Linked DNA regions of Homo sapiens: region 1 is linked to region 2. The links are contacts of gene promoters, found by promoter capture Hi-C in human tissues and cell types (Jung and others, 2019). All regions are on one chromosome and are shown on one strand. Each heading gives the region's core, a stretch centred on a gene start or on the middle of the fragment in contact. The rest is flanking DNA. Distances are from core to core; before and after follow the strand shown. Region 1 has its middle 95 kb from the start of SLC38A11. Region 2 holds the start of SCN3A (sodium voltage-gated channel alpha subunit 3).

The links. The method cuts DNA at HindIII sites, captures the fragments that hold promoters and counts their contacts. A contact is called where the count stands out against the background at its distance.
Region 1: a contact is called between a fragment that was not itself captured here and the fragment with the promoter of SCN3A in region 2, in 1 of the 25 tissues and cell types used here (mesenchymal stem cells).

What each region holds. Positions count from the first base shown.
Region 1 is chr2:165,048,699-165,051,720 of GRCh38, reverse strand. No RefSeq gene overlaps it. Among named protein-coding and RNA genes, the nearest start is that of SLC38A11, 95 kb to the right of the region's middle. The HindIII fragment of the contact is 4,338 bases long and covers 1-3,022 here.
Region 2 is chr2:165,202,387-165,205,330 of GRCh38, reverse strand. It overlaps SCN3A (sodium voltage-gated channel alpha subunit 3), which reads left to right and starts at 1,281. Exons shown (of 28, transcript NM_006922.4): 1 at 1,281-1,508. The HindIII fragment of the contact is 11,221 bases long and covers 1-2,944 here.

The DNA.
Region 1 (3,022 bases), core at 150-2,649, 150 kb after region 2:
TGTCCCCTCTTTGATTTTTGATATTAGTAATTTGTGTTCTCTCTCTCTCTCTCTCTTTTTTTCTTAGCCTGGCTGGAGGCATATTAGTTTTATTGATAATTTCAGAGAACAAGCTTTTGGTTTCGTTGATTTTCTCTGTTGATTTCCTGTTTTAAATTTCATTGATCTCTGCTTTATTTTTTATTATCTTTTTTCATCTACTTACTTTGAATTTAATTTGCTCTTCCATTGCTAGTTTCTTAAAGTAGAAACTAAGATTCTTAATTTTAAATCTTTCTTATTTTTTAATATATGCATTGAATGCTAAAAAATTTCCTCTAAGCACTACTTTCACTGCTGCATCCCCAAAATTTTGTTGTGCTTTTATTTTTATTTTATTAAATTTTTTTTTGTCATCTCTTGAAATTTCTCCTTTGATCCACATGTTACTTAGTGATGTTTTGCTTAATCTGCAAGTATTTTGGGATTTTTCCAGTTATCTTTTTGTTATTGATTTCTAGTTTAATTCCACTGTGTTCTGAGAGCAAACATTGTATGATTTCTATTCTTTAAAATTTATTAAAGTAGGTATTATCACCCAAAATGTGGCTTTTCTTGGTAAATATTCCATGTGAGCTTGAGAAGAATGTGTATTCTGCTATTGTTAGATGAAGTAGACTATAGATGTCAATTATATCCAGTTGATTAATAGTGTTGTTGAGTTCAACTACATTCTTACTGATTTTCTGTCTGTTGAATCTGTTCATTTCTAATAGAGAGGTGTTGAAGCCTCCAACTACATAGTGGATTCGTTTAGTTCTTCTCTCAGTTCTATCTGTTTTTGCCTCACTTGTTTTGATGCTCCTTTTTTAGGCACATGCAAGTTAAGCATTGTTATGTCTTCATGAGGAATTGACCCTTTATCATTATGCAATGCCTATTTTTATCCAATAAAGTTACTTGCTCTAAAGTCTATTTTGTCTGAAATTAATATAGGTATTACTGCTTTCCTTTGATTAATGTTAGCATGGTATAGGTTTTCTATTTCTTTACCTTTAATGTATATATGTCTTTATGTGTAATGTGAGTTTCTTGTAGACAACATAGAGCTGGAGATTATTTTTCCATCCACTCTGACAATTTATGGCTTTTGATTGTTATATTTGGAAAATGGACATTTAAAGTAATAAATGATATAGTTAAATTAATATCTACCATGTTTGTTACCATTTTCTATTTGTTGCCTTTGTTCTTCATTCCCTTTTTGTCTTTCATACTTTTTCTGCCTCTTTGCAGTTTTAATTGAGCCTTTTATATAATTCCATTTTCTCTCCTTTCTTAGCATACCAATTATACTTTATTTTTTACTTTTTTTTAGTTGTTGCCTTGGAGTTTGAATTATACATTTACAATTAATCCAAGTCTACTTTCAAATGCCACTGTATAGCTTCACAGGTGGTACAAGTATCTTATAGTAACAGAATAATCTCAATTCCTTTCTTCCATCCCTTGTATCATTATTGACATTCATTTCACTTATACATAAGTATACATAAGCATATCTAGATAGATAGTTGGATATAAGCATACACAGTTGAATTAATTGTTGTTATTATTTTGAACAAACTGTTATCTGTAAGGTCAATTAAAAATAAGAAAAATAGAAGTTTTTACTTTACCTTAACTTTTGCCTCCTCTGATGTTCTTTCTTTCTTTATATAGAACTAAGTATCTGACCTATATTATTTTCCTTCTTTCTAAAAAATGTCTTTTGACATTTCTTGCAAGGCAAGTCTACTGGCAACACATTTTCTCAGTTTTTGTTTGTCTAATATTTTTTCTTCACTTTTGAAGGAAAATTTTATAAGGTACTGACACCTAGGTTAGTGTTTTCTTTCTTTTAACCCTTGAATTTATTTCACTCCACTGTCTTCTTGCTTGCATGGTTTCTGAGGAGATGTTCGATGTAATCCTTATCTTTGGTTTTCTATAGATAAGATGTTCTTTTCTTCTGGCTTCTACCAAGATTTTTAATTTACCCTTGAATGTTTTTCTAGTTTGAATATGATATGCCTAGGCATAGCTCTTTTGGCATTTATCCTGCTCTGTGTTCTCTGAGTTTCCTGGATCTGTGGCTTGGTGTATGACATTAATTTAGGGAAATTTGCAATCACTTTAGGAGGCCAAGGATGGAGAATTGCTTGAGGCCAGGAAAGACCAACCTGGGCAACATAGTGAGACCCCATCTCTACAATTTTTTTTTTTTAATTAACTGGGCATGGTTGTGAGTGTTTGAAGTCCCAGTTACTCAGGCAACTAAGGTGGGATGATTGTTCGAGCCCAAGAAATGAAGGCTGCCATAAGCTATGATTGAACTACTGTACTCCAGCCTGAGAATCAGAATGAGACTCTGTCTCAGAAAATAATAATAATAATTTTTAATGTAAATACAATGGGCAGCTTTTAAACTTGAAGTTTTTCTGAAACTACAAAAATAATAGCTCTTGATTTGCTAGTGAATAGGTGATAAAGGGTGGTGTAGGAAGGTATGGACAAGATTTAAAGCAAAAATAAAAATAGATTTAATGGAAGTGTATTTGGTTAAAATGATACACTTCAGAATGTTTTTACTGCTCTATAAATGTCGGACCAAAAAGTAAAAATAACATAGTAGTTTAAGAATACTCAATATCACATAAATTGCTTCTAAAAATGGCCAAAAGTTTATCTGTTAAAAGCATTCACGGGCTGGGCGCAGTGGCTCATGCCTGTAATCCCAGCACTTTGGGAGGCCGAGGCGGGTGGATCGCGAGGTCAGGAGATCGAGACCATCCTGGCTAGCATGGTGAAACCCCATCTCTACTAAAAATACAAAAAATTAGCCAGGCGTTGTGGCCGGCGCCTGTAGTCCCAGCTACTTGGGAGGCTGAGGCAGGAGAATGGCGTGAACCCGGGAGGCGGAGCTTGCGTTGAGCCCAGATTGTGCCACTGCACTCCAGCCTGGGCAACAGAGCAAGACTCTGTCTCAAAAAAAAAAAAAAAA
Region 2 (2,944 bases), core at 32-2,531:
CCTCAGTGGATGCCCATGTGGAGAAAGGGGGAACGGGATCATACTCTGCTTTCTCTATATATGTACACAATCCTGAACTTAGATCAGTCTCCATGAGAAGGAGAGATAGAAGAGGAAAATCATGTATTGGTTGAATGCAAACCCAAAATCATTGGGAAAAGCCTCAAGTAATTTAGTTTACCTGGAACTGACTAGATTTATTTTTCTGCCATTAGACAAAATGGGGGCCACAATTGAAAACGAAGTATGTAATTAACAGTTCTTGAACACATGGCTGGGAAATATGGTATCAGCTATATTTGTTTTTCTTCTTTGTATGAGCTCCTTTATGGCAGGCACTGTGTGTTTCTCTCTGTGTCTTTTCAAGTCTAATATAATACTTGACATCATTTTTGTCCATCCATACAGTTGGTTTGTCAATATGAATGTATTTATTTAATTGATGATAAACTGTAATAAAATCATAGTTGTTTGCTCTAAAGTAGATATGAAAGGTCAGATGAAACAATAACATACATCTGGATTGAGAAATATCTTAATAACTGATGGATTATTTTTATTTTCTTTATGTATTGTGTGCTTCAATATCCTAATAAATAATATTAGCTAGGTTCACTGATGTATAGAATCTTTTTCTACATTTAGATATTTCTTGCAAATGTTTTACCAGAAAGCAACACAAAAATACTATCAGTGAGTATGTGTTTACACTGTTCTCTAAGGAGTCAAATTCCTCACCTTGAAAATAATTCATCCCAGGAAGAGAAAAGGTTTTCAAAAGACTAGAGCAGGCCACAAGGGAGCTTTCGCAAAACTCTACACGTAAAGGGTAATGTAAACTTAAAACCTATTTTTCAAACAGTAATTTATATATCTTTTAATTTTAGTAGTTTATGTGTGAAACAATCATGCAAAACAACAAAGTGATAAAATTTTTTAAAAAAATTAGTGAGATGCAAATAACTGAATATGTAAAAGGTCTCATACATATTTATATGTAGTAGATAAGTTACATTTTTTTAGTGTGTTGGGAAATTTTAGCTCACATCACCTCTCTACTGTCATCTTGGGGCACTTTCATGACTACCCATGCTTCATGCAGGTTTACTTTCCTCCCTGTGACAGAGGATAATGGGAATGTTTTTTCTTTGGCTCAATTTTGTGTGTGTCCGCCAGTAGATGGCGGTACCACTTTGAGTGCGATCGGCCTTTTTTTCTTTCTTTTTTTTTTTCCTCAAAGCTGTTTTCTGATATATGTTGGGTACCATAGAGTGAATCTCAGAACAGGAAGCGGAGGCATAAGCAGAGAGGATTCTGGAAAGGTCTCTTTGTTTTCTTATCCACAGAGAAAGAAAGAAAAAAAATTGTAACTAATTTGTAAACCTCTGTGGTCAAAAAAAAAAAAAAAAAAAAAAGCTGAACAGCTGCAGAGGAAGACACGTTATACCCTAACCATCTTGGATGCTGGGCTTTGTTATGCTGTAATTCATAAGGCTCTGTTTTATCAGGTAAGCTGACAAAACATTTCATTATCTGCACCATAGAACCTAGCTACCAGGTCATTTTCCTTACTTTAAAATCATCTTCATGCTGCTATTTTTAACCCAGTGTTGTTTAAATGTAAATTACAGGAACCAAAGGCATCGTTTGATGTGTAAACTGCTTACTATTTCTTTATCTTTCAAAGAAAATAGAGCCTGTCTGGAAATGGTGATTTATGGTACATACTAGGCATCAATGGTCTTGTGTTTTTGTAGATGCTTATGATTAATTGTATTCAGAAAAAATATTTTTTATTATACTTAAAGCTAGTCTAATGAGTTTCCTGGCTGTATGTCATCTATTTAAATGCCCAGTGTGTCCAGTATTTTTTAAACATAAATGTATAGTGAAATTGGAACTATCATTCTTGTGCTTTAGTTTTTTATTTAACAGCTTTAGAGAGGCCATGCATATAGGGAGTGATAACAATATAGAGGTGTTTGGCTTTGTGAAATACACTATCATTTTTCTCTAAAATCTGTTTTCATAGAGAAAAGAACACCAATACTAACCATTTAAAAGAGGTTGAACCTTCAAAAAATAAAATAATCTCTATATGTTCCATAATATGCTACTTCTTTATCCTTTAATATATTCATTTTATATTAAATGTTTACCTTTTAATTTATTGATTTAAAGATTATTATATATTCTTAATTGTTCTATAAGCTTGATAGATTGCTGTTTTTCTGTATATATTTAATAACTGTTTATTTTTATTAATTACCAGGAAGAACCACTGGAGCCATAAAACAATAATTTACTTTATCTATGATCCATATTGTCTGTAGTTGTATTTAGAATATTCTATATCATAACCATAAATGTTTCATTCAGTTAGCCACCACATAATTAGAATAAGAAATTATTGACAGAAAATCTATACATATTAATTGAAAGATAAGTTTTAAAAATCATACAGGGTTTTAAAATACACAACAGGTAGTATAATGTGGCTTATGAGGACAAAGATAAAGGCATAAGTGCTTGTAGGAATTTGCATGGAAACATTTCATCACATTCACTCCAAATAGAGTGTGCCCTATATGAAATGAAGACTTCTGATTTCAACAGGGCTTCCAGTCAGTACTGGCTAAAAGGGCTTCAAAAATAGAACTTAAGGCCTCCAAACTGTAATTCCTAATGATATGTTGAAAAATATTGACATCTCACTTAATATTTTACATTGAGTAGCAATAATAGTCCCCCCAAAAACATTTCAAAATAGTGGTTGCCTGAGAGGAGAGCCCTGGGTCTTGTCTATTTCAGAAGAATTCCTACCATAGGAGATAAAGAAAACTATTTCTTTGGACAGGGTTCCCAGAAATGGCTGTTAATTAACTTGAGTGTATTGTACACACCATGCTTCTCTACAGGTGACTAAATGTGAGTAACTTTGTTC